2 separate regions of the Homo sapiens genome follow, and region 2 is linked to region 1. The links are contacts of gene promoters, found by promoter capture Hi-C in blood cells and fetal thymus (Javierre and others, 2016). All regions are on one chromosome and are shown on one strand. The core of a region is centred on a gene start or on the middle of the fragment in contact, and the rest is flanking DNA. Distances in the headings are between cores, read along the strand shown.

Region 1 (4,588 bases), core at 1,517-4,016:
CTGACAAAACCCGAATTGGCTGTTAAACAGTACAATACTACCCAGTACAATCCTGCCCAGAATACGTTATTTTACTTTTACTGGGGTCATCTTATATTAATAGAAATTATTTTAGAGGCAATTTTGAAATCAAGGCTAAATCATAGCTTTAAAATGCATTGGTAAAATACTTTATACAATTAAAGAAAAGAAACAGAACTAATATATTCCCAACAGTGAAGCCACCCAGCGTTCAGGAGCCTCTGGCTGTTGATGTCTATGTAGGGGTTAAAAGTACTGGCTTTGGAGGCAGGCTATCCTGGATTTCCATTCTGAATCCATCATTACCTACCTATGCCACCTTTGGTGAGTCACTCATGCCTGCAAATAGGAGGCATTCAATAACTATTTGTTGAATGAATGAATAAATAAAGAATGCATCAACCCCACACACTGTCCACAAAACTTTATGAAATACAGTAGTTCAATTTACTTCCATTTTAAAAACTATTTGTTGCACATCTTTTATGGAAAAATTTTGGACAAAAGGGTAGGAGGGGATGCAAGAGTTTAAGCAAAGTGTTGTTTGGGTTTAAAAAGAGTATTTATATTTGGTTGAGGAGATTGGAAAAGGTTTCATGGAGCAAACAGCATTTAAGGAAGAGCCCTGAGATTATTAGGATTAGACCTGGGCGATGGGAAAGATAAAGCAGGCTGGAAGCATTTCAGGCTGAGGAAACAACACCATAAGCCAAGACCCAAAGATGAAAAAATGCAGGGAGTATGTGTTCGGGGAAAAATCCGCAGTCCCACCGGCTTGTGGTAAGAGAATTCATGGGAGACTGGATTGGAAGCTATTCAGGGTCATATCATCACTTCAGTTACTGATCCTCCCCATTCTGGAGATGCTCACAACTTCCCTGTAAGTGAAGGTTCACCCAACCACCATTATAAGTTACACTTGACCTTCTTTATAGACAGTGCCTTTATTTAACTGGTACAAAAAAGTATGGGACTTAGTAAACAATAAATAAACTATAATTAAACTATTCTAGTTCCAGAATTGAAAGGGGATTTTTTGATTCAAGCTTTTGTCCATGTATGGGTTATCTGTAACTTTTTTGAATAGTGACTTCTCTCACATAGAGATTATTTGAATTTCAAGGTTCGTGTTGAAGCCATTGACTGGAAGACTGAACGGGAAGGAAGCATAATGGGCAGTGGGTTAACAACATAAATTTTATTCTTGGTTATTAGAAAGGAAATTGTTCTCCAGGCAAATTTCAACAAAGTTGGATGAGTAAATGAAAGAAATGCCATTCTAGTTGGTACGGTATAAAAAGTAACTACCTTGGGTCAGAATTCAGTTTCAAATTGGCCTCTGACACTTGTCTGTAGTGTGGTCTTGGGCAATTCATCTAACCTCTCTATGCCTTGATTTCCACTTGTATAAAATGAGAAGTACAATCATAATAATAAAATATGCCAGCAGTATACTGTATTACTATCCACCTGAGGTAGGAGTATGTATTTTCACCCCACTGTCTTTGGACCTGGCCATGTGATGTGTTTTGCCCAGTGGAATGTAACATTTGCCACTCCTTTTATTATGAGAACAGCATGCTCCTAAGGAGGCTGCTCTTTCAGCCTGCATTCTAGAACAAAGAGGACACAGGAAGCAGAGATGCAGCTGATCTACAGCTTACATAAAACCTGAATGATAAATAAACTTTGTCATTGTAAGCCACTGAGATTTGCGAGTTGTTCCTGCTGCAAAGCCAAGTAATATACTGCGCTACCCACCTCACATATTTGTCTGAAGTGGACTTTAAAAATGTTTTAAAGCACTTTATAATGTTCTATGCCCGTCTATGTCTCAAACCAGCTCCTTCTCTCGCCATAGATTGATGCAGGTCAGAAAAGTTAACAGCACTAACTTATGTGAGACAGTAAAGTGAGAATACCTGCTTTCAAAGCTGCACCTCTCTCTCCTGCCTTTCTGCCATTGGCCCCCAAATTCGTTGCTACTGCCCCGTTAGGATTATACTCAGTTCCTATCCCATCTCCTCATAAAACAAAATAATCGCACGGGTTTTGTTATTTGTGATGTGAACTTTCATAAAAATATTGAAATGGTACCGCTTTTTCTGCTAGTGCTGGCCCCAGTTCTTCTGAGAAAATGCTCAGAACTGCCGGCTTCTGTTTCTTCTCCATATTTTGGTTAAATTTTACTTGAATCCTTCATTTAGTCAGTTTTGCCAGAACGTCTCTGTGGAATCCTATTTAAATTCAAAGCACTCTATGAAAAAATTTCAAAAGGATCGCTTTAAAAAAAAAAAAAAAGACATTTCAATTTAACTAGCAGTAAGTAACTCTTGTTGACTAAACTCATTAAAGAAGCAACCACTGAGATCACACAGAAAAACCTCAAGAGGTGGCACCCCGACTCGCATTAACCCAGGGAGACATGATGGCTAAGGAAGTAGATGGGACAATGACTGGGCCCGAAAACAAGAAAATCTTTGTTATAAAAGCCTCCCATTTCTGCACGATTAAGTTGAAAGAAGGTGAGCTTCGAGTTAAGCCTAGGCAGTTTTGAATTCCAGCTCGCCCACAATCTCTTGCAACCTTAGGCCGCTTACCTGAGACTCAGCCTTTCTTACCCAACAAATCAGGGAAAATAATAGCTACCTTACAAGACTAGCAAGTTTGTCTTAAATGGAGTGAGATGAGTGGAACACCTAACAGAGGTCTCAGACAATAACAGCTTCTCCAAAAATTCTCGATTTGTGGTTGGCTGAGGTGGAGGAACAAAATGGCGGCGCCGGCGGCGTGACCGGGCCCTCTGGCCCACAGCCGTTGGTAGCGGTGGCAGCAGTACTGCTGCCCCAACTCGCTGTGCCCCCTTTCTCAGCCCACGACATCGCCACGACAGCGAGGCAGCGACCGCCACCGAGAAAGAGGTGGTGGCCCAGCCTGGAACCTTGAGAAACCCTCGCAAACTGTGGCCTGGCGGAAATCCTGGTGTGCTGCAGGGATCAGGCTGACTCCACGCCCTGTAACACCGGGAAACGCCTCGGTGGCCATTTCCAGCAGCCCTCATCCTCAGCCTTGCGGGCCGGTGGGCCCCGGAGGCCTCCATCCTCCCCTAGAGGGGTCAGGGCTGAGCCCAGCCTCCATCTTTGCCTCTCAGGATGACAAACAACAGCGGCTCCAAAGCCGAACTCGTTGTGGGAGGGAAATACAAACTGGTGCGGAAGATCGGGTCTGGCTCCTTTGGAGACGTTTATCTGGGCATCACCACCACCAACGGCGAGGACGTAGCAGTGAAGCTGGAATCTCAGAAGGTCAAGCACCCCCAGTTGCTGTATGAGAGCAAACTCTACACGATTCTTCAAGGTGGGGTTGGCATCCCCCACATGCACTGGTATGGTCAGGAAAAAGACAACAATGTGCTAGTCATGGACCTTCTGGGACCCAGCCTCGAAGACCTCTTTAATTTCTGTTCAAGAAGGTTCACCATGAAAACTGTACTTATGTTAGCCGACCAGATGATCAGCAGAATTGAATACGTGCATACAAAGAATTTTCTACACCGAGACATTAAACCAGATAACTTCCTGATGGGTACTGGGCGTCACTGTAATAAGTTGTTCCTTATTGATTTTGGTTTGGCCAAAAAGTACAGAGACAACAGGACCAGGCAACACATACCGTACAGAGAAGATAAACACCTCATTGGCACTGTCCGATATGCCAGCATCAATGCACATCTTGGTATTGAGCAGAGCCGCCGAGATGACATGGAATCCTTAGGCTACGTTTTCATGTATTTTAATAGAACCAGCCTGCCGTGGCAAGGACTAAGGGCTATGACAAAAAAACAAAAATATGAAAAGATTAGTGAGAAGAAGATGTCCACCCCTGTTGAAGTTTTATGTAAGGGGTTTCCTGCAGAATTCGCCATGTACTTGAACTACTGTCGTGGGCTGCGCTTTGAGGAAGTCCCAGATTACATGTATCTGAGGCAGCTATTCCGCATTCTTTTCAGGACCCTGAACCACCAATATGACTACACATTTGATTGGACGATGTTAAAGCAGAAAGCAGCACAGCAGGCAGCCTCTTCCAGTGGGCAGGGTCAGCAGGCCCAAACCCAGACAGGCAAGCAAACTGAAAAAAACAAGAATAATGTGAAAGATAACTAAGCGTGAATGAGGAACAGAAGAAGCAGAGCAGATGATTCGAGCAGCATTTGTTTCTCCCCACATCTAGAAATTGTAGTTCATATGTACACCAGCTAGTGGCTGTGAACAACCATTTAGTTGGTGTAAAAAACTTTATTTCAATATAAACTGACTCTGGGGAGCGTTGGTGATGCTGTATCCCAAAGTGTAGCCTCTGTAATTGTGAATATTAACTGAGGTAGTGAAACGTGGTGTCTGGTTTTCTATTGCATTTATTCAAGTAGAAAAGTTAACTAAATGGTTGACACACACGAATTGGTGGAGACATTGTCCATATGCCAATTTTTTGTTAAAACCTTTTATTTTGAACTAGACTGCTTTGAGATATCATTTCAGAAGGACAGTATTCAGCCACAGCTGCA
Region 2 (4,616 bases), core at 1,509-4,008, 520 kb before region 1:
ATGAAAGAAAACTCTTGTTCTGAGCAGCAGTTCTCAACAGTGGGCTTAAAATATTCAGTAAACCGTGCAGTAAACAGATGTGCTGTCATCTTAGCTTTGTTGTACCATCAATTGAGCATAGGCAGAGTAGATTTAGCATAGCTCTTAAGGGCCCTAGGATTTTCGGAATGGTAAATGAGCACTGGCTTCAGTCAATAGCTGCATTATACCCTAACAAGAGAATCAGCCTATTCTTTGAAGCTTTGAAGCCAACCATTGACTTCTCCGCTCTAGCTAGAAAGTCCTAGACAGTATCTTCTTCCAGTAGACGAGTAGAAGGCTGTTTTGTCTTCTGGACACTTCACTGCATCTTCTACATTAGCACTTGCTGCTTTACTGTCCACTTTTATGTTATGAAGATTGCTTATTTTCTAAACCTTGTGAAACAATCTCTGCCAGCTCCAAACTTTTATTTTCCAGCTTCCTCACCTATCTCAGTCATCATAGAATTGAAGAGAGTTAGGGTTTTCCTCTGGATTAGACTTTGGCTTAAGGGTACATTGTGGCTGGTTTGATCTTCTATCCAGACCACTCAAACTTTCTTCATATTAGCAATAAGGCTGTTCTGCTTTAACATTTGTGTGTTCACTGGAGTCAAACTTTTAATTTCCTTCAAGAACTTTGTCTTTACATTCACAATTTGGCTGTTTGGCGTGAGAGGCCTAGCTTTCACCCTATCTTGATTTTAACAAGTTTTCCTCACTAAACTTCATTATATCTATAGCTTTTCATTTCAAGTGAGAGATATGCAGCTCTTTCTTTCACTTGCACACTTAGAAGACCTTGCAAGTTTATTAATTGGCCTATTTTCAATATAGTTGTGTCCAGGGCATAGGGAGGCCAAAGGAAAGGAAGAGAGATGGGTAATATTCAGTCGGTGGAACTGTCAGAACAGAAAACATTTATGAATTCAGTTGACCATCTTAAATGGGCACAGTTTGTGTTGCCCCCAAACAATGACAATAGTAATGTCAAGGATCACAGGTCACTGTAACAGATATAATAATAATGAAAAAGTTTACAATATTGTGGAATTACCAAAATGTGACACAAAGGCACAAAGTGAACACATACTGTTAAAAAGATGGCATCCATAGACTCGCAGGTTCCATTTGTAAAACAATGCAATATCTGTGAAGCACAATGGAGAAAAGTGCAGTAAAACAAGGTATACCTGTATAATACTTCCATTTCCTCTCCTCCACCCCCACACCCATCCCTAACCCCTGACAACCACTAATTTGTTATCCATTTTTTATCATTTTGTCATTTCAAGTCAAAACATTATCAGTGTTATATAAATGGAATTATGTAGCATATAACCTTTGAAGGTTAGGGCTTTTCACTCAGCATAATTCTCTGAAAATTTATTCAAGTTGTTTGTTTATGTCTATCAAATTTTGATTCTTTTTTATTGCTCAGTTAAATTCCCTGGTGTGGATATAACAACATTTGTTTAGCACTTCACCCATGGAAGGATAGCTAGGCTGTTCCCAGTGTTTGGCTAATACAAATAAAAATGCTATGAACATTTATGTACAGGTTCTGGTGTGAACATAATTTTTATTTGTCTGGGATAGACGCCCGGAACTACAATTGCTAGGTAGTATGGCAGTTGCATACTTAGTTTTATAAACGACATGTCAGTGTACTGTACCTTTTACACACTCGCCAACAATATATGAGTGATTCTGTTTCTCTTTTTTTGCTAGCATTTTATGTGGGTAACAATTTGTATTTTACTTGTTCTGATTTCTATGTAACAATATCTCATTGTGATATTAATTTGGATTTTCCTAATGGATAATGATTTTAAACACCATTTATTGTGTTTACTCCCCATCTGTATGCCATCATGGTGACATGTCTGCTCATGTCATTTGTACATTTTCTAATTAGACTGTTTGTATGTTTGTTTTTATTGTTGACTTTTTGAGTGTCCTTTTTATATTCGAGATACCAGTCATCTGTCGGATGTGTTTTGCAAATATTTTCTCCCAGTCTGTAACTTGTCTTTTCATCTTCTTGACAGAGTTTTCAACAAAGCATGATTTTAAGATTTTAAGTCCAATTTTTCCATCTTACTTTGTATGAAAATTTGAAGAGCACTTTGCCTAGATCATGAGGATTTCATTCTATGTGTTTTTTTCTAAAGGTTGTATTCTTTTGTGTTTTATATATAATCATACTGTCTTTCCCATTTTTTCAAGTACATTAAGTAGCATACCATATTAGTTCATTTTGCATTGCTATAAAGGAATACCTTAGGCTGGGTAATTTATAAAGAAAAGAGGTTTGGCTCAGGGTTCTGCAGGCTGCGCAAGCATGGTGCTGGCATCTGACCAGCTTCTGTTGAACAAGAAGCTTTTATTCTTGGCAGAAGGCAAAGAGGTATCAGGTGTGTCCCATAGTGAGAGAGAGCACAAGAGAGAATTGCTATACTCTTTTAAACAACCAACTGTCACGTGAACTCATTACAATGGGGAGGGCACCAAGCCACTCATGAGGGAACTGTCCCAATGACCCAAACACCTCTCACTAAGCCCCAGCTCCATCATTGGGATCACAATTAAACATAAGATTTGGAGGAGACAAATAAGTAAACCATATCACATACATACAGATTTACAGAAGAAAAGTAAACTTCAGGAATAGAATCACACATGTAACGTAGAGGAAATGATGAGGGGAATGCTGACTGGCAAACATGCAGTTATTAATAGCAGTGAAATGGGGAGACAACACGAAAGAAAAATTATTTTTATGAGATAAAAACTAACCCAGTTACCCTGAAGTTGTAGCCAGACTTTTCTGAAGTTTGAAAAAAAATAAAACTCAAGTAATTTTTCAATTCTATTACATTTCTCACAACTTCTTGAACCAGATGGAGAAGCAATAAAGATGAGAAAAATTGCTCTGATGAGACTGGAAACCAGAAATAAACAAATAAATTAAAAAAGTTCAAATGCAAGCCACTTCATGAAATTCAATGGCTGTTTGAAAAAGCATGAGATTGCAGAAATATGGCATGACACCCTGTGTTTTAAAGAATATTCACTAAATTTGAAGCTTGTTAGTAGCTACCATTGAAACCACCAATCATGTATTCCGCTTTAGCTTTGACAGTGAATAATGACAACAAAAGAAAATAACCTGGGTAAAAAAAATTAATGTAATTCATTAGTATAAACTAAATCATATTAGAATAATGAAATTATAATTTTATGAGACTGTGTATAAACCATTAAACATTACAATTTAGTGTCCAGCAAAAATATAGCCATTTAATGATAAAGAGTGTGGCATGAAATTCCCATGTTAATTAAAATCATTTGTGAGGCTTGCATTAGAAGGATAATTATTTTTAATAAATAACCATAAAAATATAGACTAGAGTTTTGGCTAAGTCATTATGATATATAATACCATAATATTTTTATTCTCTGATGAAAATACAGCAAGCAATTAAATTGCTTAATCAATGGAAACAATTGGAATTCTTCTCTTATAAAATTTGAAGTTGCCACTTTTTACAAAACTCAAAGTTGGAAATTGTAATTTAATGTATGAGATAATCTGGATCTCTAATTTGGCTTTCACTTTCTATTATTTTCCATTTTTCCCCCAAATCAGAGTTTTGACTCTGTGTCAAAAAATGGAAGTAAAAAGATGAAGAATGCTTTCTATAGGAACTCACAATGTCAAGTCAGGAAAAATCTCACTTATGTTTTACATTGTAAGATCAGAAACATAGTGTTAGTCTCTGTATAGATGGTGCTTAACAGTCAGGGTTTGCAGACCACTTTTTTTTTTCTCCATCATTCATTAATGTGAAAAGAGATTACTTTTTTAAATTAGGTATGTATTTTCATTTTCTTTCAGACAGAAATATAGTAAGAAATACAGAAAAGGCACCATTTTTCATCTGACACATAGAATAAATTTATTAAATTGATGATATATTGATTATTTAGCGCCTTCATATTTTTACTCACCCACATGGTAAATTGCTGTTTGAAATAATTATTACCTCCTTTATTAACATTGATTAAGCATACACTTTGTGACACACATTGTAATACTTGCTGAGGATAAAATAATAAAACAAAAAGTTATTGAACTAAAAGTTCAATCCTATGGAAATAACAATTAAGTGTGATAACTATGGTGTCCCCGGGGAGAATCTAGGAGGGGAATCTAACCCAGTATTAGGAACAGAGAATAAGGGATGTCTGTGTTATTTCCTAAAGATAAGTAATAGTCATTCGGTAGTTGATCTTTATCCTGGGAATAATTGGGTGTCATTAAATAATTTATTACAGGAGTTTGTCATGACAAAATTCTATTTAACTACAGACAGAATGAGATGAGGAAATAATCCTCACATTTGCATGTCAAAATGAAAGAGAAGTGAGTTCTTTTAATTCTGAAAAGGAGCTTTTTGGGGATTTCACTCAATGGTGTGGAATAACCTGATTTCCAGTCTGTAGATGATAAATGGGGAATAAATTTTTCTAAAGCAAAACAAGTGACTACAATTCTAACAAGTTTTATATGTTATGTTTAAAAACTAAGTA

What was found. The method cuts DNA at HindIII sites, captures the fragments that hold promoters and counts their contacts. A CHiCAGO score of 5 or more calls a contact.
Region 2: a contact is called between a fragment that was not itself captured here and the fragment with the promoter of CSNK1A1L in region 1, in 1 of 17 cell types (endothelial precursors). The highest score is 8.3, in endothelial precursors.

The regions. Positions count from the first base shown.
Region 1 is chr13:37,103,842-37,108,429 of GRCh38, reverse strand. CSNK1A1L (casein kinase 1 alpha 1 like) reads left to right here and starts at 2,766. Exons shown (of 1, transcript NM_145203.6): 1 at 2,766-4,588. The coding sequence starts at 3,174. The coding sequence ends at 4,187. The HindIII fragment of the contact is 4,821 bases long and covers 1,070-4,588 here.
Region 2 is chr13:37,624,580-37,629,195 of GRCh38, reverse strand. No RefSeq gene overlaps it. Among named protein-coding and RNA genes, the nearest start is that of POSTN, 28 kb to the right of the region's middle. The HindIII fragment of the contact is 705 bases long and covers 2,406-3,110 here.